Linked DNA regions of Homo sapiens: regions 1, 2, 3, 4 and 5 are each linked to region 6. Evidence: promoter capture Hi-C in 16 types of primary human blood cells and fetal thymus (Javierre and others, 2016). All regions are on one chromosome and are shown on one strand. Each heading gives the region's core, a stretch centred on a gene start or on the middle of the fragment in contact. The rest is flanking DNA. Distances are from core to core; before and after follow the strand shown. Region 1 overlaps RAB5A (RAB5A, member RAS oncogene family). Region 2 overlaps EFHB (EF-hand domain family member B). Region 3 holds the start of PP2D1 (protein phosphatase 2C like domain containing 1). Region 4 overlaps PP2D1 (protein phosphatase 2C like domain containing 1). Region 5 has its middle 5.8 kb from the start of RAB5A. Region 6 holds the start of SGO1-AS1 (SGO1 antisense RNA 1).

Region 1 (4,395 bases), core at 520-3,019, 210 kb before region 6:
ATTTGTTATATATGGGAAATATTAGGTTGTCTAAAGCAAATCAAAATAAAACCAGAAATCATCTCTGATGATTCTAAAACTAGAAATCAGGGACAACTTCTTGGTATAGTTTGAGAGACAGATTGAGTGAACATTGTAATCTGGTGCTATATATTAAAGGTTTTTAAAAGTGATATTATATGCCACTTTTTAAAAATTAAGCCTAAATCTCCAACTGATCTTCTTGTTATGTACTAATTTATATATATATATATGTATGTATATATAAATCAATCTCCAAAAGAAGATATACATAGAAAGTGGTCTCAGTTACATTCCGAGGAAATCTGTAAATTTGCATAACCTTTAGTGCATGGACTTTGTGAGATTTATTCTGGCTGCATTTACTCTTCTTTTGCTAGCTTTCTGGTTGTGTTCTGATTTTTTTTTTTTTTTTTTTTGAGGCAGGGTCTTGCTCTGTTGCCCAGGGTGAAGTGCAATGATGTGATCATGGCTCTCTGCAGCCTCAGCCTCTTGGGTCAAGCAGTCGTCTCACCTCAGCCTCCCAAGTAGCTGGGACTACAGGTGTGCACCACCATGCCTGGCTAATTTTGAAATTTTTGTAGAGGCGACGTCTTGCTGTGTTGCCCAAGCAGGTCTTAAAACTCCTGACCTCAAGTGATCTCCTGGCTTGGCCTCCCAAAGTGCTGAGATATAGCCATGAGCCACCGCGCTAGGCTGTGTTCTGAATATATAAGGTTTCCAGATAATTGATCTTTTTGGAGACACACTCAGAGGCACATGAAAGACACTTGGTTTTGAATAATAATTGGTGGAGGCTGTGGGATGGGAAGTGTTTTAAAATTTTGCTTTTAGAATAGAATAAGAATTCTTACTTGATAGAAACATGGGAAATTTTGGCAAACTGTTTCTCCCTTTTTTAGGTCATATACCATAATAACCTGACATTGCATATACATAATCTTGTTTATGAAGTATGCTGAGTAAATTTATGATAGGATAGTATCATTTGGAGTTACATCAAAAGCCTTTTCAGCAAACCTCTTTGTGAAGGAGAATAAAGATGTGTGAGAGTAAGAAAAGCAATAAGAGTACTTCTAAAGGTTTTTGTTTTTGAGATGGGGTCTCGCTCTGTGCTAGACTGGAGTGCAGTGGCATGATCATGGCTCACTGCAGCCTCAACTTCTGGGCTCCAGCCATCTTCCCACCTCAGCCTCCTGAGTAGCTGAGACCACAGGCATGTGTGCCCCTGCCCCCGGCTAATTTTGTATTTTTGGTAGAGATGGCTATTCTCCATGTTTCCCAGGCTGGTCGCGAACTCCTGAGCTCAAGCAATCAACCTGCCTTAGCCTCCCAAAGTGCTGGGAATACAGGCGTAAGCCACTTTTTCAGGCATCATTTTTTGTCTTTTAATTCATTGGCTACCTTGATGTATATGTAAACTTTAGTTACCTAGTTGCTAAATTCCTCAAGATGAAAGTTAAGTGTTACTGAAGTCATATGTTGGACTTTGAAAATAAGAATGCTCTACAAATCAGAATATCTGAAGTAAGTGTTGCTAAACAGCATTCATCCTCCGTTTGAGGAAAGGTAGAAGCAGGATGAAGAACCGGTTAGTTATTCATGGTTTTTTAAGCCTTAAGTGTTCGCAGTAGTAGTTGTTGGATATTCTTTGGGCCCCAAAGAAGAAGTGGGTAATCTTGATACATGACTAGTCACTGCATAATTATCAGACACCTTCAGCTTTTCTCAGTCAAAAAACTGTTCTTTATCTTTGCATAAAACTAGAGCCAGAATATATTCCACCTAGTTACTATCGTTTTTATTTGAGGTATAACATGAATAGAATTTTCTCCTCTATTGCATTCATAAGTAATTTGTAAATTTTAGAAAAATGTGACTTCTAGGAAATAAAGGATAATTTAAAGATAGGACACTTATAATAATTACTTGTTATGTGATACATTCCTAGAACTTAAACAGGATTTTCAGAAGTTTCATCTGTACCTTACCATGGCTATATGGGAAGGTACTAATTTTATAGACAAGGAAACTGAAGCAATAAAGGTTAAGTATATGCTTGAAGTTTTGCAACTAGGTGACAGCTGGGATTAAAGACATCTTTCTGAAATGCCATTCATGTTCTGGAATGTACTGTGTATGTGTGTATTTCTCCTTGCAAGAACCTATCAGACTAGAAAATTTGGCTCATAGTTAGAGTACACATGACAAGTGTTCTGTTAAATAATATGTAGTATTTGACAGGTAGGGGCCTTCTTGCTATGTATCACTTAAGGAAAATAATGTGAAAGTATTTTGAGAACAAAAGAATATAAGACGATTATTTAAATTGTCCATATTCCTAAATTATCACCACCATTTTCATTTTTATGCCATCATCATGTGTCACACGCTATATTTTAACTGCCTTTAATCAAATGCATTAATTTGTTCATGTGAGTCAAAATTCAAGAAGTTTATAAGGTTTACAGTGAAAAATCTCCCCCTCATCTTCTATCTAGCCCACTCAGTTCTTTTTCCCAAAGATGATGTTACTTTGTTATATATCCTTGCAAAGTTACTACTATACTCAAATCTATATATTCTTGTCTCCCTTTTTACAAAATTTGAAATATGTCAGATGTACTGTAATACACTTTTTATTTTTCACTTTAATGCTGTTCTAGTTATCTATTGCTGAGACACAAATGACTCCTCCAAAATGTAGAGACTTAAAATTATTTTGTCATCTCCATGGTTCTGGTGAGTGGGCTTAGTAGGTGGTTCTCACTCTGATCTTTTCCTTGCTCTTGCAGTTCATTACGGGGCAAGAATCATCTCAACACATCCGGCAGTTGGTGCTGGCTATTGGTTGGGACCTCAGATGGGGCTGTTAGCTAGAACACACCTACATGTAGTAGCCTTTTATGACTTTGCTCCAGAAGTCACATAGATAGATAGCATCTGTTCTATTCTAGTCACAGGCCTGTACAGATTCAAGGGAAGAGTGTCAACATCACACTGTAAGAAGAATGTGGTGTAGAATGTCTTGTTGCAGCTGCCTTAGAAAATACAATCTACAGGCTGGGCGTGGTGGCTCACACCTGTAATCCCAGCACTTTGGGAGACTGAGGTGGGCAGATCACGAGGACAGGAGTTCGAGACCAGCCTGACTAACATAGTGAAACCCCTTCTCTACTAAAAATACAAAAATTAACCGGGCATGGTGGCGCGTGCCTGTAGTCCCAGTTACTCGGGAAGGCTGAGGCAAGAGAATGGCTTGAACCTGGGAGGTGGAGGTTGTGGTAAGCTGAGATTGCACCACTGCATTTCAGCCTGGGCAACAGAGCGAGAGTCCATCTCAAAAAAAAAAAGTACTGTCTGCCGTAAGACCTATCTATATCAAAAGAACGTCCGCATTTTTCTTGGCTGTAACAGTATTCCCTTGCATGGGTCATATTAGTAATATCAGTTCTCTAGTTTTAGATATGCACATTGTTGTATCTTTGGCTATAATAGTACTGTACTAAATAACAGCAGTAATTTCTCACATATTCTGAGTATATCTGCAGTATATATTTTTAGAGCCCAGTGTGTTTGGTTTCTCTTTTCTTTTTTGATTTTTTTTTGAATCGGGGTGTCACTTGCCCAGGCTGGTGTGCAGTGACGCTGTCATAGCTCACTGCAGCCTTGAACTCCTGGGCTCAAATGATATTTCCACTTCAGCCTCCCAAATAGCTGGGACTACAGGTATGCACCAACACACTTGGCTGATTTTTAAATTTTTGTAGAGAAGGGTTCTCATGTTGCCCAGGGTAGTCTCAAACTCCTGGCCTCAAGCCATCCTCCTACCTTGACCTCCCAAAGTGTTGGGATTAAAGGCATGAGCCACCATGCCCAGCCTGTGTTTAGTTTTTCTGTGAACTATTCATAACCTCATGTTACTTCTATGTAGATTTCTTTATAATAGTCACACTACTGTGTTCCATTTGATTTATTAATGGTAATATTTCTCAGTACATCTATATTGTCATATTTTAGTATCTGGCAATCTTCTCTTTTTATTATTTTTTAACTGTTCCATTGTTGGGCATTTAATGTTTGCTTTTTTGTTTGCTGTTTTAGGTAATCACCTAATAGGGGATATCTTAGAATTTCACCCCCCCCCCCCCCGACTTATTTTCGTAAGATCAATTTCTAGAGGTGATTACTGAACCCAAAGGAATTTTATCCTAATAAAATTGTTTTGTAGGATCAAAAGAATTCTAATCTTCATCCTTTTTCATCCCTTAGAGATACATCCAGTTTCTTTGGGGGTTGGCATAGATAATTATATCCTAGGATTACAGGTTTCCTCTAACTGTTAATAGGAGTTTAAAGTTTTCCCTCTCTGTT
Region 2 (4,467 bases), core at 1,818-4,317, 250 kb before region 6:
TGTATCTTCAGTAAATTCTACCCACACAATTACATTGTGTGAGAAGAACTTTGTGTAAAAAAAGAAAGGAGCTGTGTTCTGTGTTCTAACCTGGGCAAAAGCAAGACTGAGAAGATGGAGAAGAGATATAGTGAGATTTTTTTTAATTCAGTTGTAAGTTATAAGAAATCTCACTAATACCAGGGAATATTGTCTCTCTCTATACTTAGGATACGAACTCAAGTCATTTTTAAAAATACGAAGGCTGCCAGGCAAGGTGGCTCACACCTGTAATCCCAGCACTTTGGGAGGTCAAGGTAGGTGGACCATTTGAGGTCAGGAGTTCAAGACCAGCCTGGCCAACATGGTGAAACCCCGTCCCTTCTAAAAATACAAAAATTAGGCAGGCATGGTGGTGCGTGCCTGTAATCCCAGCTACTCGGGAAGCTGAGGCAGGAGAATTGCTTGAACCCAGGAGGCAGAGGTTGCAGTGAGCCGAGGCCATGCCATTGCACTCCAGCCTGGGCAACAAGAGCAAAACTCCATCTCAAAAAAAGAAAAATAAAATTATGAAGGGAATCAGAATATGCTGTCCAAAAATATGCCACTTTTGCATATGGATTATTCTGAGCTGAAGGCAGTTAAGAATCAGCAGATACAGGAAGAGTTCAACACTTGGAAGAAGGTGTGGTAAAGCTTGGATATGAAAATAGAAAGATTGGTTGAAAGTGTGTATTCAGGGCAATTGTATCCCCAGTTCTTCTTCATCCTATGTTATCCTTGTCTTCACACAAACTCTCAACCCCTCTTGCCAAACTGTGGATGTGTTTTTGCAAAGGGGTTTTGTAGCCAGAAACATCAAACCCAAGGTAAGGTAGCGGGGCATTAATAGGAGCATTAATAAGTAAAAGTATACTTTCTGTAATGCATTTCCTCTAGCTTCCTCTCCCACTGGGCCCTGGAAAGCCAGCAGCCAGGAGTTAAGCCAGCCCTCTAGCCAGTGGGCAGTGTATAGGAAAGGCAGTAGCGCATCATGAATATAAATAGAGATTTGGAAGCCAGCTTTCTTGGGTTCAAATATCTGCCAATAAATAAGCTGTGTCACCCTGTTACTCAGCCTCAATTTGCTCACAATGGAGATGGTGATAACAGTACCAACCTCATAGAGATCGTTGAGAATTAAATGAGTTAATACATATAAAACGCTTAGAACAGTGTCCACACATGCTATGTGCTATATAAGTTTCAACTATTATTACATTACTATTCTCTGGAAAATCTGAATAACCTAGAAGAAAAAAATTAATATTCGGGACTCTCCCAAAATAAAGGCTGCCTCATCTCTTCATCACCCTATAACAATGCCCCAGCCAGATGCAGTGGCTCACACCTGTAACCCCCAGCACTTTGGGAGGCAAAGGCGGGCGGATCACAAGGTCAGGAGTTCAAGACCAGTCTGACCAACATGATGAAACCCCGTTGCTACAAAAAAATATAAAAATTAGCCAGGCATGGTGGCGCATGCCTGTAGTCCCAGCTACTTGGGAGGCCCAGGCAGGAGAATCACTGGAACCCAGGAGGCGGAGGTTGCAGTGAGCCGAGATTGCGCCACTGCACTCCAGCCTGGGCAAAAAGAGTGAAACTCTGTCTCAAAAGGAAAAAAAAAAAAAGCCCCAAGGTAAACAAGCCATGCAACACACACACAGCTAATAATTTTCTTTGTAGTACCTAATGTTTCATTTGTTTTGTTTTGTTTTTGAGACAGGGTCTGATTCCGTCTTCTAGGTCAGACTGCAGTGGTGCAGATGTCAGCTCACTGCAACCTCTGCCTTTCAACCTCAGCTCACTGCAACCTCTACCATCCTCCCACCTCAGCCTCCCTAGTGACTGGGACTACAAGTGTGGGCCACCATGCCTAGCTAATTTTTGTATTTTTTTTGTAGAGACGAGTTTTTGACATGTTGCACAGGCTGGTCTTGAACTTCTGAGCTCAAGTGATCTGCCTGCCTTGGCCTCCCAAAGGGGTGGGATTACAGGCATGAGCCACCACGCCCAGCCTGCCTAATGTTTTAATATGAATTATTAGACTCCAGTTTGAAAGGGAGGGGCAAAACAAGCTAATAAAAAACATACACAAACATAGAGGGAATAGGAAAATGTAAATAAACAAAAGAGATTACCTGAGAGATATAAGATGTTGCATTTATTGCATTTATAAAACTATATTAGAAATTCTAAAAGACAACCTGAGAAGAAATAACTCTTTAGAATTTAAATATGATAATCTAAATAAAATTTCTACTTTTCACCTATTGTTTTAATATGTACTGATGAGCTGGGCATGGTGGCCCATGCCTATCATCCCAGCACTTTGGGAGGCTGAGGCAGGAGGACTGCTGGAGCCCAGGGTTCAAGACCAGCCTGGGCAACAAAGTGAGACCCTTATCTCTTTAAAAAAATAATAATAACTAGTGATGATTCTTTCCTAAATCATTATTCCTATGATGGTTGCCAAATGAGGACTTTCTAATTTTAGCATTCTTTCTATATTTATTAATTGCATTATACTGCAAGGAAGTTTTCTTTTCTCTCTCTCTCTCTTTTTTTTTTTTTTTGAGACAGAGTCGTCCTCTGTTGCCCAGGCTGGAGTGCAGTTGTGTGATCTTGACTCACTATAACCTCCGCCTCCCAGGTTCAAGTGATTCTCCTGCCTCAGCCTCCCGAGTAGCTGGGAATACAGGCACATGCCACCACGCCCGGCTAATTTTTGTATTTTCAGTAGAGACGGGGTTTCCCTATGTCGGCCAGGCTGGTCTCAAACTCCTGACCTCGTGATCCTCCCTCCTCAGCCTCCCAAAGTGCTGGGATTACAGGCATGAGCCACTGCGCCAGGCCTTTTCTCACTATTTATTCACACATTTATGTATTTACATCCCTATGTACTCGTGGATTTCTATTTTATTCAATGGTAATTTTATTCAATACTCAATGTACACCAGTTTGGTCTAGGGGAAGACTCATCAACCTTGTTTCTTCAAGTTTGTTTTATATCTGCATGATTCTTTAGGATTCTTCTCATTTTTTTGCTCATGAGGATGTTCCATGTTCATATTGTACTTGCCTGTGCAAGTCCTAGAGTCAGCCATTTCTCCAAGGAGCTTAATTTCTTTTCAAAGAGAATAGTACATGGCACATGTATACATATGTAACTAACCTGCACATTGTGAACATATACCCTAAAACTTAAAGTATAATAATAAAAAAAAAGAAATAAAGATCTGGATTTTGGTGTGCTCTTTGCTACTAGAGAAATACCGCTTCTAAGCTCTCTTAAATAGAGTTAGGATGGCCGGGCGCAGTGGCTCACACCTGTAATCCCAGCACTTTGGGAAGCCGAGGTGGGCGGATCACGAGGTCAGGAGATCAAGACCATCCTGGCTTAAACGGTGAAACATCTCTACTAAAAATACAAAAAATTAGCCGGGCATGCTGGCCGGCACCTGTAATCCCAGCTACCCGGGAGGCTGAGGCAGGAGAATGGCGTGAACCAGGGAGACGGAGCTTGCAGTGAGCCGAGATCCGGCCACTGCACTCCAGCCTGGGCGACAGAGCTAGACTCCTTCTCAAAAAAAAAAAAAAAAAAATAGAGTTAGGAAATGTATGAATAGACAAACACCCCCGCACACTTGCATGTATATTGATCCTATAATATTCTGTCTAGTTAAATGTGTGTAGTTAGAATCCATGGTCATAGATATATAGATATATCATAAATGTATATGAATACCTCTAATCACAATCCAACACAACAGGATTCATTCTATTCTCCTTTCCATATTTATAACACTTTTCTCTGTCAGTGAGAAAAGGGTTATTGTCCTAAATAACCCTGGCATTATTGTCCTAAATATATTTACTTATCTGCTTAGGCTTTCTGTCTGTAACCCAACTCCAAACTGCACCAACCATCTCCTTGCTCAGCTGCCTCTTTGCTCGGTCCCTAACAACACCGGAGACACCTTGCTTGGCCACCTCCTCACTCAACCCCCAGTGTTACAGGCTTTAATGGCCAAGTACCTCTTTCATTTATCATACAAGTGAGTCCCAAGATTCAAGTCAACTCAGGAAGGTTGATATAAGACCATTTTCAGCTGCTCAAGACCCACAGACCCATAATCATCACACCACCTTCCACTCTTCAAACTCAATGTGGGTTAGCTTAATGGTTACAGCTCTCCCACTTGCCCTTGGTCAAGATCCCTCTGTTTTACTCAGAGAGATCCCCAATTCTAAACATCTCAGAGAGCATTAGGAGTGATGGTACCCATTCCCTTTCTGCCCAGAAGACACTGAATCCATTATGCAAATAAAAACATCCAATTCCCAGAATTCTGCAGAGATTAGCTTTGGAAATTCATACAAAATAAATCTTTTTACCTGGTATTTTCTCCAATACCAGGGCCTGCATAACTAGGAAGGTCCCACAAG
Region 3 (4,249 bases), core at 673-3,172, 160 kb before region 6:
CACCTCAGCCTCCCAAAGTGCCGATTTACAGGTGTGAGCCACTGTGCCCAGCCTGTTATTTAATTTTATCACAATTTTTGCTGGAGTATTTTAATGCCAATCTTCAAATCATATCAACTCACCCATAAATACTTCAGTCTCAACAGTCTAATCCAATCACTTCTTCAATACCTACAATAGGCCAGGCGCAGTGGCTCATGCTGTAATTCCAGCACTTTGGGAGGCCGAGGCAGGCGGATCACCTGAGGTCGGGAGTTCGAGACTAGCCTGACCGACATAGAGAAACCCCATCTGTACTAAAAAAATACAAAATTAGCCGGGCATGGTGGTGCGTGACTGTAATCCCAGCTACTGGGGAGGCTGAGGCAGGAGAATTGCTTGAACCCAGGGGCGGAGGTTGCGGTGAGCCAAGATCATGCCATTGCACTCCAGCCTGGGCAACAAGAGCGAAACTCCATCTCAGAATAAATGAATAAATAAATAAATATATAAAAATAAAAAATACCTACAATAGGCCAGCTACCGTGCAAGGTGCTGAGATGCACAGATGGATGAGGATGCACCCTGCCCTTGAAGCTATGAGGGAAAAAGTTTGCAGTGCTGTCCATATGCTCATCCAGGTCATTAATAACAGAATGAAACAGGTCAGGTGGAGCCAAGGACAAAGTCCCATTATTGTGCCCAACCGGGAACCTAGCCCTTCATCTGGCTAGGAATGGTGTGATGAGACCTAAGAAAATGACCTAGGAAAACTCACAGCTGAGACATATTAGCAAGGGGTCCAAGGCAATATCCAAGAGAATGATCAGTTAGCCGGCAGAAGGAGCAAGAGGACCCAGCAAAAGAAATGGACAGGTAAGCAGAGAAGTAGGGGAAGAAACTGGGTCTGTCAAGGCCTTTGAGAGCTTTTGGCCAAAATATATAAAAATATTTTAATTGCTATTTTTTGGTAATATTCATGTAAAGGATGTAGTTTTATGAGCCTTGATGGACTATTGGGACAATATATAAAGCACCGCAACAGTGTGTTTTGATCTGAAGTCAATTACTTGTATCAGAACTTCATTTTTCCATACGCCGGGGACAGCCATAATACAGCTCTATCACACGTGGGCCATTCTTAGAATGTATTGCATCATTCATATGTTCATTCATTCATAATAACAAATTAAATAGGCCGGGCACAGTGGCTCATGCCTATAATCTCAGCACTTTGGGAGGCTGAGGCGGGCCTATCACTTGAGGTCAGGAATTCGAGACCAGCCTGGCCAACATAGTGAAACCCTGTCTCTACTAAAAATACAAAAATTAGCCGGGCATGGTGGCAGCCGCCTGCAGTCCCAGCTACTCGGGAGGCTGAGGTGCGAGAATCACTTGAACCCGGGAAGCGGAGTTTGCAGTGAGCCGAGATCGCGCCATTGCACTCCAGCCTGGGCAACAGAACGAGACTCTGTCTCAAAATAAATAAATAAATAAAATAAGTTAATTAATTAATTAATTAACTATAAAGACATCAGAATAAGAGCATAGAGAGGAATGGAATTCCTCTTTTGTATAAGGCAGAGGGATATATCACTCTTCAATGTACACAGTTTAACAGGAAGCCAAGGTTTCATCTGATAATTAAGAAAGTGGAAGAAAAAAATACTGTAGATATAATTACTCATTGGCTATACGTATTATCCAAAAAAGATTTAAGAAAGTTTACCTTAAAGCATTATTGGTGCTCATGTTCCTTTGGAATTACCTTTCTTTGCCCTCCCTTTATCCCCTTCCCCTGGCCTCTATTTCTCCAACTTGAGTAGTGATGGTGATGGTGGAGGTAGAGGTGAATGTGATGGCTGTGGCAGAAGTAGTGGTGATGGTGATGATAGCGATGGTGGGCATTCCCCTCACTTGATGGTAGAGCTCCCTGTGTGGAATGTTCACTACATCACCTGGAACCTCAGTCAGAACTCACTTTATGATTCAGAAGGACTGTGAAGCAATAACATCACAAGTTGTATGAAGTAAACTTTGGAATTTCTGAAAGAAGGAGCATTTGTTAAATATACTGTCTTACTCTTCCTTTCTCCGCCATCATGGTGTGTGCTTGACTCTGCTTCTCGCCATGTCTTCTCACAAAACCTTCAGGATTAAGCGTTTCCTGGCCAAGAAACAAAAGCAAAATTGTCCCATTCCCCAGTGGATTTGGATGAAAACTGGTAATAAAATCAGTAGAACTTCAAAAGGAGACATTGGAGAAGAACCAAGCTGAGTCTATAAGGAATTCCACATGAGATGGCGCACATATTTATGTTGTGTGAAGGTCACGACCACCTTACCATATCAAGCTGAAAATGTTACCACTATCTGGACAATTGGACATGTTTCACTGGGACTATATTTTTTCTTTCTGTGTGTGCTATGAAGGCACTGGTTGGCTGGGTTCAGTAATAAATATGTGAGGTCTTTCGTTTTTCTCTCTCTGCATATATATATATATATACACACACACACACATATATGTATATATATAGACAGTATATATACATAGACAGTATATATATAGTGTATATATATAGACAGTATATATATATACACATATATACATATATATGTGTATATATATACAGTATATATATATATATATATATATATATATATACTATCTTACTGCTGGATGCAGGGGCTCATGTCTGTAATCCCAGCACTTTGGGAGGCCAAGACAGGAGGATTGCTTGAGGCCTGGAGTTCAAGACCAGCCTGGGCAGCGCATATCGAGACCCCATCGCTTCAACAAAAAAAAAAAAAGAAGAAAGGAAAGAAAAATTAGCTGAGCATTGTGGCACACACCTGTAGTCCTAGCTACTCAGGAGACGGAGGCAGGAGAGTTACATGAGCCCAGGAGTTTGAGGCAGTCAGCTGCAGTCAACTATGATTGTGCCATTCCACTCCAGCCTGGGTGACAGAGCGAGACCCTGTCTTTAAAATAAATAAATAAACTGTCTTATGCCTATGTAGTAGAAATGAAAATGTAAAAGGAGTGACTGTCAATTATTTTTATAACTTGTGGCACTTTCAAATAGCCATTTTAGGAGACTATCCTTACTGTACAGATGGGATGTCTTCCCACCCAGTGTTACAGCACCTCAGGCCATCTCTCGAGGACACCTCCTCTATCTGCTCTGTAGAGCCTGCCCACCCCATCTTGCTGTCTCAATTAACTGCCTGAGAGTTGTAGATCTTGACTGGACTGCCTTCACTCTTTCCCCTGCCTTCACTCCTGACTAATATCTTTAGTTCCCAAATGTTTAATCCACAGCTGCATGCCACTCCCTTACCCCAAGGCTGAGTTAGAACAAGAGTCCTAGAGCAGGTTGCCTGAATGCTGAAGAAGTTTGGACAAGCCCAACTGTCAACTAGGTGTCTCCCTGAAGAGGTATCAAAGTCAACATGTTCAAAATGGAACTCACTAACCTTCCCTCCAGAATCTTCTTTGATCATCAACTTAGTTTAACTGGAACGTCTCAGAGAATCCCTTTTCCTGTGTGGTTCCAGGTTAAATTTGGCCAAGAAGGGAATCTTAATATTTAAAACTTAGGGGTTTATATTGGAATGCTATCATCATCCAATGAGTTCACCCACAGATGCTGAAGTGCCTAGCAGGTTTCTGCTTGTCCTTTGTTCCCCACTACTCTGCCTCCAGCTTTTCCTCCAGCTCCAGGTCTTGCTGACCAATAGCAGCCCCAGGCCTATTAGCTGGCACCCGTCTTTGGGCCCACAGAAGCAAACATTTCCTCTAGCCTTCCCCATCAGCTTCTCCTTCATGGTCCAGCTTGGGCATCTGGATGTCCCTGGCTTCTCAGACTGACTGGCTGGGGACTTCCCTGATGCCCCATCTCCTCTTCCCAGATGTTTAGTTGACCAGCTTCTCCCACAAACTAATTTTAACAATAAATCCTTTATTCCACAATGCCTAGGGTTCTGCTTTACTGACTGAACCCTAGCTAATACAGAGACCAACATCACCCCATCCTCCTTTTCAGGATATATGAAATTGATCACCAAGACCTGTCAGATCTCTCTCTCTCTCTGTCTTTTTTTTTGAGATGTATTCTCACTCTGTCGCCAGGCTGGAGTGCAGTGGCACAATCTCGGCTCACTGCAACTTCTGGCTCCTGGGTTCAAGCAGTTCTCCTGCCTCAGCCTTACGAGTAGCTGGGAATACAGGCGCTTGCCACCACACCAGGCTGATTTTGTATTTTTA
Region 4 (4,317 bases), core at 1,247-3,746, 180 kb before region 6:
TGCCTCCTGCAATTACTGGGTTATCACCAACTTTTGTGAAAAGGAAAAGTCCAGTAAACTTACAGAGTGAACTCTGGAATCCCAACCAGGGACTTCTAGAGCTGAGTAGGCAATATCAACATTTTTCTCAGATAAAGCCAGAAAGGTGACTTAGTGTTGATTAAAACAAGAGAGTTTAAAGAAAGAATGAGAGAAGAGGAAAAGAAACTTTATGTGGTGGTCAGAAAAAGACATACCTATATACGTGATGGGTGAAGCAGGAAAAATAAAAACACACCTAGGATGCACAACGTTGCCAGGGGTAATAAGGACAGTTTGGTGTAGAAAAACAGTATGGGGAGTGGAAGGATTTAGGAGCCTGACAGTCAGACTTTAACCCCAAACTTTTGTCTATGTGGCCTTCATTAGGTCACTTTATTTCACTAAGTAACAGGTTTTCACCTGCAGTGTTGTCAAAGTTATTGTGAGACTCAATAAGCTAATTTAAGAGGTAGACACTTGGAACACTTATTTAGTGTTCCAAGAAGAGAAAAGCAGGTAGAGAGGCTATTCAAAAGAAATTGAGGGGAAATGAAAAATGTTTCATTTCAGACCCATTTATAAAAGAATTATAAGAAAATGCGAAGTAGAATTACAGGCTTAAGATAGTAGGCAGTGGTAACTTGGAACTTAGGGAAAATTGAAATAGTTACTGGGGAAAGGAAAAATTACAATTGTAAAGGAGCATAGGTAAATTAGGATTGCATGTAAATAAGGTTAGGGGAAACAGTCTGTATCCAGTTTTTCTTCAGTGCTGTAGTTTCAGCAAAAGAGGCTGAATTTGTTTAATTTTATGCATGGACAGGAGCTTTGTGACTTCCTAAGAATGGTTAGCATAAGAGTCTTATTCATGTTGAACTAGCTTTCATTGGATGTTCAAAATGTCCTTTTGTTTTATAGATGTGTGATCATGAAATTCATGTCCATTGTTCATTGCTCACCATTGTACCCCTAAAGCCTAACTATATTACGCACAAGTCTCAACTATGTGTGAAATATTTGTTGAATGTGTTCTCAGAATCAGGTTTGTAAGCATGTGAGAGTTCCTCAGCACCACCATCAAAAAAAACGGAGAAGGGGAAGGGAAGGTATATAAAATGTCAGTGTTAAGAATTTGGCTTTTTTCCTGCACAAAATTGAAGGAGATTCTGGAGTTGAATTAGACTTTAGGGGAAAACGGTAGGGATGGGGATAATTTTAAAAGCAACTTATTAAACTAGTCCAAATGAACACATTTTCACACCCATGGAAACAATCACATCTAGAGAAGAAAGACAACTTAGGTCTGCAAATACCGCATTAGTGATGAATGAAGACAGAAAGGTCCACATAAAAATGAAGATATCCTAAAAACAGGAGAAAGCTAGTACTGTTCATTTGAAGTAACCAGACTTCAAGCCTGAAAGACTGGAGTCCTGGCTCACTCACTGGTTATATAACCTTGTATAATGCTTTGATGAGCTTTAGTCTTCTGATATATTAAAAATGTGATTATCCTTTCCTCACAGATTTTGAAGATTAGATGAAAGGAGTGACGTGGCAATCTTGAGAAGGGAAGGGGGCTTCAGGTGGCCACCAATTTAAAAATTGTGATAGCCAGCTGTGGTGGCGCAGGCTGAAGGCCTAGCTACTTGGGAGGCTGAGGCAGGAGGACCGCTTGAGGCTAGGGGTTCCAGGCTGCAGTATCCTCTGAGTGAGCCTAAGAATAACCACTGCACTCCTGGCTACATAGCAAAACCTCATCTCAAAAGAAAAAGAAAAAGAGTAATAGAGAAATAGTGGGTAAAGTTGTGAAATGGTGGGTAAAGTTGTGCCTGGTCTCTGAATCTACTGTGAGCTTATGAGACAGAAAGCTAGGACACTAGAAATAAAAGTAGTTTACAGGGCCTCATTAAAAAGAATTATTAACAAATGTACAATCTAGACATAAAGATATTGGAATAACAGATACACTAAAGCACTCAAAAAGGAGCAGTAATGGGGCAGTCTGGATCTTAGATTGACCCTTCCACTGAGAACAAGTAAATATCCTGGATAATATAGCAGAAAGTGCAAAATACTCAAGACGAATAATGACTAAATTCAGGTATACCAAGAGCAGAAACCAGCTTTTACCTGAGACCATGTATTGAGCCGAATCCACGTTAAATTTTCACAAGGTGGCCAGGTGCAGTGGCTCATACCTATAATCCCAGCACTTTGGGAGGCCAAAGCAGGTGGATCACTTAAGGTCAGGAGTTTGAGACCAGCCTGGCCAACATGGTGAAACCCCGTCTTTACATAAAACAAAATTAGCTGGGCATGGTGGCACATGCCAGTAATCTTAGCTCCTTGGGAGGCTGAGGCAGGAGAATCGCTTGGACCCTGAATCCGGGAGGTGGAGGTTGCAGTGAGCCAAGATCGAGCCACTCTACTCCAGTGTGGATAACAGAGCAAGACTGTTTGTTTGTTTGTTTGTTTGTTTTGAGACGGAGTCTCGCTCTGTCGCCCAGGCTGGAGTGCAGTAGTGCGATCTCAGCTCACTGCAACCTCTACCTCCCAGGTTCAAGCAATTCTCTGCCTCAGCCTCCCAAGTAGCTGGGATTACAGGTGCCCACCCCCGGCTAATTTTTGTATTTTTTAGTAGAGATTGGGTTTCACCATGTTGGCCAGGCTGGTCTTGAACTCCTGACCTTGTGATCCACCCACCTCGGCCTCCCAAAGTTCTGGGATTACAGGAGTGAGCCACTGCACCAGGCCCAATTCTGTCTTAAAAAAAAAAAAATCACAGGTTTATGAAACAGGAGACAAAACCTAGGGATTGTCCAAGATGGGGAAGACTAAATGGCTCACCACAACAAAGCTAGGACCCCAGAGGATGATGGCCTCACTGAAACAGTGAACCAAAAATAAACCTATGCCTGTTGCCACCACACAGACTACAGAAAAAATGACTATTTCAAATTAGGCCAAAGAGAGAAAGAGGGAAGAAAGGAAGCTACAAAGAACTTGGAACTGGCTTGACATTGTAGCTCACATCTGTAATCCTGTGAGGAAAGGATAATCACATGTTTAATACATTAGAAGATTAAAGCTCATCAAAGCATCAGAGCACTTTGGGAGGCCAAATGGGAGGATCACTTGAGTCCAAGAGTTCGAGACCAGCCTGGGCAATATAACAACACCCCATCTCTGCAAAACAAAGAATGTGAAACCACCAACCTTCATGTATTTGTAGTCTGAAAGCCTCAAATGGATCACTTAGTACATATTGATAGTGTCAACAGGCAGACACCAGGCAGGAGCAAATGCAGTACTCTGGATGACACATCTCTCAAATAATTCCCCTAAACATATATTATATGGAATTTCTTATCTTTCTGGTCAAGATACAATAACAGTGACTGGATTTACACTTTCATCTGTTTTGAAGAGACAGAGCCAAGAGTCCAGGGAAACCAATGCAGCTAGAGCTTGCTGAGGACAGAATACCAGAGAGAAAAGAGAGGCACAGAGTATTCCAGATATCTTTCGAGGGTCTTTCTCAAGTGAGTCTTTCTCAAGTGTTTAGATGGGTACTGGTGAATACATGTGTGTGAGGAAACTCCACAACACTGGGAAAAGAAACATTTGAAAAGGATTAGAGGGAGCATTGCTGAGGACTCATAGGGCTGGAGAATAATTCCTGTTCCAACCAGCCAGACTGAAAAGATATTAATTCGTGAATCATTAGGTAGCATGCTTAGGAATGTTTTGCCTCAGTAGTAGAGAATAATTGGACCAAACTCAACACTGCCCTGGACTTGCCTAATAAATTACAAAAACAGGATCTAAAAGGATCAAACTATTTCCAAGTAATTTCATCCCAAAACAAAGCTGAAAACCATATATCCAAAAACACAAATTTACTCCTAACACCCACAACCTGTCAATGTGTTCTTATTGGCAAAAAAAAAAGTTTTTGCGGTTGTAGTTAAGGATTTCAAAATGATACCATTCTGGATTATCCAGGCGGGCCCAAATTCCAATGAGAAATGTCTTTGTAAGAGATACACAGAGTAGAGACACATGGGTGGAACAGTAAAATGCCATGTGAAAGTCAAGGCAGAGACTGGAATTATACAGCTGTGGGTGAGGGAATGCCTGGAGCCACCATAAGCTGGAAGACCCAAGGAAGGATTTCTACCCTAGAAGAGGCATGGCCCTGTGAACACCTTGACTTCAGGCATCTGGCCTCCTGAAGCATGAGAGAATAAATGTTTGCTGTTTTAAGCCACCAAGTTCGTGGTAACTTGTTAC
Region 5 (3,954 bases), core at 1,428-3,927, 230 kb before region 6:
TACTTCTTCCCAGTAGCACGTCTTGCCACTCAAACTGGGTTGGGTCTCCTTTTTTTTTTTTTTTTTTTTTTTTTTTTTTGGGATGGAGTCTCACTCTGTCGCGCCCAGGCTGGAGTGCAGTGGCGCGATCTTGGCTCACTGCAAGCTCCGCCTCCCGGGTTCACGCCATTCTCCCGCCTCAGCCTCTAGAGTAGCTGGGACTACAGGCGCCCGCCACCACACCCGGCTAATTTTTTGTATTTTTAGTAGCGATGGGGTTTCACCGTGTTAGCCAGGATGGTCTCTATCTCCTGACCTCGTGATCCGCCCGCCTCGACCTCCCAGAGTGCTGGGATTACAGGCGTGAACCACCGCACCCGCCCATGGGTCTCCCTCTTTCATGCTCCCATAGCACCTCAAACTTATTTGTAACAGTATTTATCCTACTATGATCTATGTGGGTTTCCATGTCTGTGTACTAAACTAGATGCTCCTTGAAGAGCAAGCCTTCTAATAGAATGCACAGGGTCTGATCTAAAAAAGGCTTTGATAAACCACTGTAAAACCGAACAATTGATATTGAACTGGCATGGATGACACTCTGGCACCCTCCAACAACTTAGTGTTATAGATTTGATTGTATCTCCTCTACAGGAGTTTAAGGCCCACTGCCCCTATTGACTCAGCCATCTTCCGACATCTCTCAAACACCACCTTCCTCATGAAGACTACTCAATTTCCTGCCCCAGTTTGGAATGATCTGTCCAATTCCTTTAAAGGCTTACTTTCTATGTACTTCTTTTTTTATGAGATTACAGGCCTTTTTAGGCAAATTTTGACTGGGAAAAATTAAACTACATTGACTGATCAAAAAAGAAAAAAAACTGCCACAGAATTTGCTACATATTTGGGTCCTTCAGTGTTTTAAGTGTGTGGAACAATGCTACATCTGTACTTGGGCTGGCTTATTCAGTGTTGGGCCCTGAGAAAGCACCATCAGAGGGAGGAGATCCACCAACAGTGAATCCCCTAGGCATTCCTCCTGCACTCTGCTAGAGCTTTGTAATGATGGGATTGCAGACTCTCTCCAGCTCTTTCTGCTGATGTTCAAATTCTTCCTTCTCAACAGCCTGATTCTTATCTATCCAGTTAATAATTTCATTACGCCTGACAAGAATCTTCTGTTTGTCTTCATCGTGAATCTTGCCTTGAAGTTTCTCATCTTCAACAGTTGCTTCCATGTTGAATTCATAGGATTCAAGGGAATTCTTTGATGACACCTGTCTCTGCTTCTCATCTTCAGCTTTGTACTATTCAGCCTCCTGGACCACACATTTAATGTCTTTCTTGCTAAAATGGCCCTTGTCATTAGTGACAGTAATCTTGTTCTTTTTCCTGTACTCTTGTGCACAGCAGAGACACTGAAGATGCCATTGGCATCAATATCAAATGTGACTTCAATGTGAGGAACACCTTGGAGTGCCAAAGGTATGCCTGTGAGTTGAAACTTGCCAAGCAGGTTGCTATCCTTGGTCATGACATGCTCACCTTCATAAACCTGAATAAGCACATCAGGCTGCCTGTCAGAGTAGGTAGTGAAGGTCTGTCTGCTTGGAAGGAATGGTAGTATTATGCTTAATGAGAACAGTCATGACTACACCATCGGTTTCAATACCATGGGAAGGAAGAATGACATACAAGAGCAACAAATCTTGAGCATTTTCAGATTTGTTGCCAGACAGAATGGCTGCTTGGACAGCTGCACCATAAGCAACAGCTTCATTAGGGCTGATGCTCTTATTCAGTTCTTTTCCATTGAAAAAGTCTTGGAGAAGCTTCTGAATCCTGGGGATAAAAGTAGAACCACCATCCAGGAAAATATCATGAATCTGTGACTTGTCTAGTTTGGTGTCTTGAAGGGCTTTCTCTATAGGGTCCAGGTGTCACAGAACAGGTCAGCATTCAGTTCTTCAAATAGGGCATGTGTAAGAGGTATAGACATTGATTCATTCATAGAGAAAATGGATCTCAATACTAGCCTGGCTGCTCAAGAAAGAGTGTACTTAGCATGTTCACAAGCAGTATGGGGATGTCAGACAGCTCTCTTATTCTCACTGATGTCCTTTGTATGCTTGTACTTGAACTCAGCAATAAAATGGTGGACCACTTGGTTGTCAGTGTTTTCCACCTAAGTGGGTGTCTCCTGCTGTAGATTTCACCTCAAAGATTCCATCCTCAACAGTGAGGACTGACACATTAAAAGTGCCACTTCCAGGTCAAGCGCAATGGCTCACGCCTGTAATCCTAGCACTTTGGGAGGCTGAGGCAGGCGGATCACCTGAGGTCAAGAGTTCAAGACCAGCCTGGCCAACATGGAAAAACCCCGTCTCTACTAAAAATACGAAAATTAGCTGGGCATGGTGGTGCATGCCTGTAATCCCAGCTACTCGGGAGGCTGAGGCACAAGAATCGCTTGAACCCGGGAGGCAGAGGTTGCAGTGAGCCAAGATTGCGCCACTGCACTCCAGCATGAGCAACAAGAGTGAGACTCCATCAAAAAAAAAAAAAAAAGGCCAGGAACAGTGGCTCACACCTGTAATCCCAGCACTTTGGGAGGCTGAGGGGGGGCAGATCACCTGAAGTCAGGTGTTTGAGACCAGCCTGGCCAACATGGTGAAACCACGTCTCTACTAAAAATACAAAAAAAATTACCCAGGCGTGGTGGTGGGCACCTGTAATCCTAACTACTCAGGAGGCTGAGGCAGGAGAATCACTTGAACCTGGGAGGCAGAGATTGCAGTGAGCCGAGATCGCACCACTCCAGCCTGGGTGACAGAGCGAGAATCCATCTCAAGAAAATAAATAAATAAAAATTTAAAAGTACCACTTCTAAGGTCAAAGATCAGCACATTTCATTGAGCTCCAACCTTTTGCCTAAGGCATAAGCAATAGAAGCAGCAGTTAGCTCATTGATAATTCTCAGTACATTGAGATAAGCAATAGTTCCAGCATCTTTGGTAGCTTTGATGCTGAGAATCATTAAACCAAGCTGATATTGTGACCACAGCATTGGTAACACTCTTTCCAAGGTAGGCTTCTGCCATTTCCTTCATCTTTGTCAGAATAACAGAGCAGCTGTCCCCAACCTTTTTGGCACCAGGGACCAGTTTCATGGAAGACAATTTTTCCACAGACCAAGTTGCAGGGGGTAGGATCGGGGGAAGATAGTTTTAGGACAATTCAAGCACATTACATTTATTGTGCACTTTATATTATTATTACATTGTAATATATAATGAAATAATTATATAACTCACCATAATGTACAATCAGTAGGAGCCCTGAACTTGTTTTCCTGCCACTAGACGGTCCCATCTGGAGGTGATGGAAGAGAGTGACAGATCATCAGGCATTAGATTGTCATAAGAAGTGCTAGATCCCTTGTGTGTGCAATTCACAATAGAGTTCACACTCCTATGAGAATCTAATGCTGCCACTGATCTGACAGGAGGGGGAGCTCAGGTGGTAATGTGAATGATGGGGAGCAGCTGTAAATACAGATGAAGCTTCACTGACTTGCTGCCACTCACCTCCTGCTGGGCAGCCAGTTCCTAACAGGCCACAGTCCAGTACCAGTCCATGGCCCTAGAGGACACCTTTCTGGACAGAAGTTTTTTTTATCTCTCCCTTGTATTCTACTTGGACCTTGGGCCTGCCAACATTATTCACTACCATGAAGGGCCAATGCTTCATATCAGACTGGACAACAGCATAATCAAGTCTGTGTCCAATCAGCAATCAGATTTGGCATCAAAAACTGTGTTCATGGGGTTCATTGCAACTTGATTCTTTGTGGCATCACTGAGCAATTGTTCAGTATCAGTAAAGGTGACATAGCTTGGAGTGATTCAATTTCCCTGATCATTGGCAATTACCTCTATTTTTACATGCTGGAAAACACCCACACAAGAGTAG
Region 6 (2,534 bases), core at 35-2,534:
TTTTCTGGACATTTTTAAATGTACACAAAGATGGCAATAACAGTATAATAAACTCTGAGTTACCCAGGTCCAATAATTATCAACACTTTGACAATCATGTTTGATTTATTCTAACATCATTATAGCATTTTTGCTTTTTTTTTTTTTGAGACTGAGTTTCGCTCTTGTTGCCTAGGCTGGAGCGCAATGGCATGGTCTCGGCTCACTGCAACCTCTGTTTCCTGGGTACAAGCAATTCTTTTTCTCCTGCCTCAGCCTCCCGAGTAGCTGGGATTACCGGCACATACCACCAGGCCTGGCTCATTTTTTTGTATTTTTAGTAGAGATGGGGTTTCACCATGTTGGCCAGGCTGGTCTTGGACTCCTGACCTCAGGTGATCCGCCCACCTCAGCCTCCCAAAGTGCTGGGATTACAGGCGTGAGCCAACCCGCCCGGCTTACAGCATATTTTTAAAAAAGATACTTGCCTGCTACCACTGACTAACTGGCCGATTTAGAAAGTTGGTTTGGTTTTTAAGGTTTTAATCTCCTTACAAACAAAATAAGCATCATAACACCTATACTTCACAGAATTGTTCTGAGGATCAAATAAAATGATGTGACAATATTTTGAAAATGATACAACTTGACTATAAATGTTAGTTTTACTTGTATTAACTAAAATTGCCAAATGAGAATCTTTGTGGACAGGTGTAGGTTGTATTACGAACATTTGAACTATGCCTACTTTTGATCTAATAAAATATTTTCTGAGCCAGTTTTTAGAGATGTCGTACAAAAGAATACTAAGCCTATCAATTGAGGAAATCTTCACTAACTAGAAGATTATTTTAAATCACGGTTCCTGTCAAATTTAATATAAAACAAGGCCATTAAAATAACAAGTCACTGGATTCAAATTTGATTTCACTTTCAAGGGGATACTTCAGTTAAGTGTATAAAAGCTACTTCAATTCAACCTAAGTCTACAAAAAAGTCCCTCTGTCCCCTTGGGAGTCCTAATTTACTGAAAATAAAAATTCTGTCTCCATAACAAGCAATCTCTGAATTAGGTCAGAGCAATACAACTGTGATTTCCACACCCAGCCCCCCACTGTTTAATCAGACCATAACTTCCACCAAAGAGAGACAGATGGTAAGTCTCCAACCTCCACCAGAGAAACAGATGGTAAGTATAGTATATAAGCATCAGGAGTGATCATTTATCACGAACATTAAAAATACAGGTAAACAAGTAGATCACTTACTGGTAGGAGTTTTTGTTGGCTTAGAACCCTCCGTCTCTTTTTCATCTGTGTATTTCAGTGCTCTTTTAGCTAGAGGCCTGGTGACTGGTCTATCTGAATTGCTCGTGGGATTCTGAATGTACTTGCAAGTGGGCAAATAGAGGTCATCGGAATCATCTCCTGAACCACTTGATTCACAGAGGCTCACTTCAGACTCGTTGTTTTCTTCTCTATTAGAGTCATTGCTCACTTTTTGTCGGAAAGGAGTAAGATGAACACCCTCTTCCAAATTAAAATTGTAAGCATCATTGGAACTGACAGATTTGTGCATTTTTTTTTGGGGAACAGTTTTTTTATTTTCGCTTTTATTCTCTTTATATTTTGACATACGTTTTGATTTTCTCCTGTTAGCTTTTCTTTTCTCTTCTCTTTTTCTTTCTTGTGTATCTCTTTGCTTACTTTTAGTTTGTTCAGATTTAGATTCTAAAATGTCTTCTTTTGTTTTAGTAAACGTTCCTGGCTGAATCAGCTTTGGTGATAAGTTAACTTGGTCCTTGCTCCATTGACAAGCATTGTGTTGTACATTTTCAGGTATGTGCATGTTTACTAGTGGGTCTAAAAATCCAACTCTTTCGAATTCAAAAGACTTCCCTGCCAAATGACTGGTTTCAAAATCATCCAAGCTATCAAACTGACATATACTGTTACAATGTTTCTTTAAACTGCTACGAACAGATACAGTTCTAGGTAAGACATTATCAGTAGACTTAGCTTCACCTGAATCAAAATCAACTCCCAGTGTGTCTTGAGGAATAGTAGGTATCTGATCTGAGAATTTAAAAAATAAATGAGAAAAGTAGTTTTACTTTGTGGAAATTTGAATTTCAAGAACTTTAGAATTCAAACTAAAAAAGTGAATGACCAAAAGGTCATTCTGTAGTTTTCCTACATTATAAAATCTGTAAATAAAAACCTGGGAACTTAAATATTACCATCTATTTACTTGTCAGTGATCAACTGATGGCTTATATCTGACATGTGAAAGAATCTTGTACAGGTTCAGTATCCCTAATCTGAAAATCTGAAATCCAAAACTTTTTTAGTGCAGTCATGATGCTCCAAGGAAATGCTAACTGGAGGGTTTTGGATTTCAGATTTTCAAATTAGGGATGATGAACTGATATAATGTAAATACTCCAAAATTTAAAAAATAAATCCAAAACACTTCTGGTCCCAAGCATTTTGGATAAGGGACATTCAATCTTTATAATCTTTAAAAACATTATAGGCCAGGCACGGTGGCTTACG

Evidence for each region. Contacts are between HindIII fragments. The CHiCAGO score rates a contact against its expected background, and 5 or more counts as called.
Region 1: a fragment that was not itself captured here is called in contact with the fragment with the promoter of SGO1-AS1 in region 6 in 6 of 17 cell types (neutrophils, total CD4 T cells, non-activated CD4 T cells and 3 more); the score reaches 10.5 in neutrophils.
Region 2: a fragment that was not itself captured here is called in contact with the fragment with the promoter of SGO1-AS1 in region 6 in 1 of 17 cell types (neutrophils); the score reaches 8.7 in neutrophils.
Region 3: a contact is called between the fragment with the promoter of PP2D1 here and the fragment with the promoter of SGO1-AS1 in region 6, in 9 of 17 cell types (neutrophils, total CD4 T cells, non-activated CD4 T cells and 6 more). The highest score is 12.0, in neutrophils.
Region 4: a contact is called between a fragment that was not itself captured here and the fragment with the promoter of SGO1-AS1 in region 6, in 1 of 17 cell types (neutrophils). The highest score is 7.3, in neutrophils.
Region 5: a contact is called between a fragment that was not itself captured here and the fragment with the promoter of SGO1-AS1 in region 6, in 1 of 17 cell types (non-activated CD4 T cells). The highest score is 7.0, in non-activated CD4 T cells.

Annotation. Positions count from the first base shown.
Region 1 is chr3:19,959,206-19,963,600 of GRCh38, forward strand. The region is part of intron 2 of RAB5A (RAB5A, member RAS oncogene family); the gene reads left to right. Among named protein-coding and RNA genes, the nearest start is that of RAB5A, 14 kb to the left of the region's middle. RefSeq lists an enhancer at 1,612-1,781. The HindIII fragment of the contact is 5,997 bases long and covers 1-4,395 here.
Region 2 is chr3:19,921,638-19,926,104 of GRCh38, forward strand. The region is part of intron 1 of EFHB (EF-hand domain family member B); the gene reads right to left. Among named protein-coding and RNA genes, the nearest start is that of EFHB, 10 kb to the right of the region's middle. The HindIII fragment of the contact is 4,788 bases long and covers 674-4,467 here.
Region 3 is chr3:20,010,342-20,014,590 of GRCh38, forward strand. It overlaps PP2D1 (protein phosphatase 2C like domain containing 1), which reads right to left and starts at 1,923. Exons shown (of 3, transcript NM_001252657.2): 1 at 1,709-1,923. The coding sequence starts at 1,731. It also overlaps the pseudogene RPL39P18. The HindIII fragment of the contact is 22,515 bases long and covers 1-4,249 here.
Region 4 is chr3:19,991,254-19,995,570 of GRCh38, forward strand. All of the region lies in intron 2 of PP2D1 (protein phosphatase 2C like domain containing 1), which reads right to left. Among named protein-coding and RNA genes, the nearest start is that of PP2D1, 19 kb to the right of the region's middle. The HindIII fragment of the contact is 6,106 bases long and covers 1-4,317 here.
Region 5 is chr3:19,939,322-19,943,275 of GRCh38, forward strand. It overlaps a transcript of EFHB not described here and the pseudogene HSPA8P18. Among named protein-coding and RNA genes, the nearest start is that of RAB5A, 5.8 kb to the right of the region's middle. The HindIII fragment of the contact is 1,731 bases long and covers 1,813-3,543 here.
Region 6 is chr3:20,173,002-20,175,535 of GRCh38, forward strand. SGO1-AS1 (SGO1 antisense RNA 1) reads left to right here and starts at 1,285. Exons shown (of 4, transcript NR_132785.1): 1 at 1,285-1,524; 2 at 1,734-1,817. It overlaps SGO1 (shugoshin 1), which reads right to left. Exons shown (of 8, transcript NM_001199251.3): 6 at 1,248-2,054. The HindIII fragment of the contact is 5,926 bases long and covers 1-2,534 here.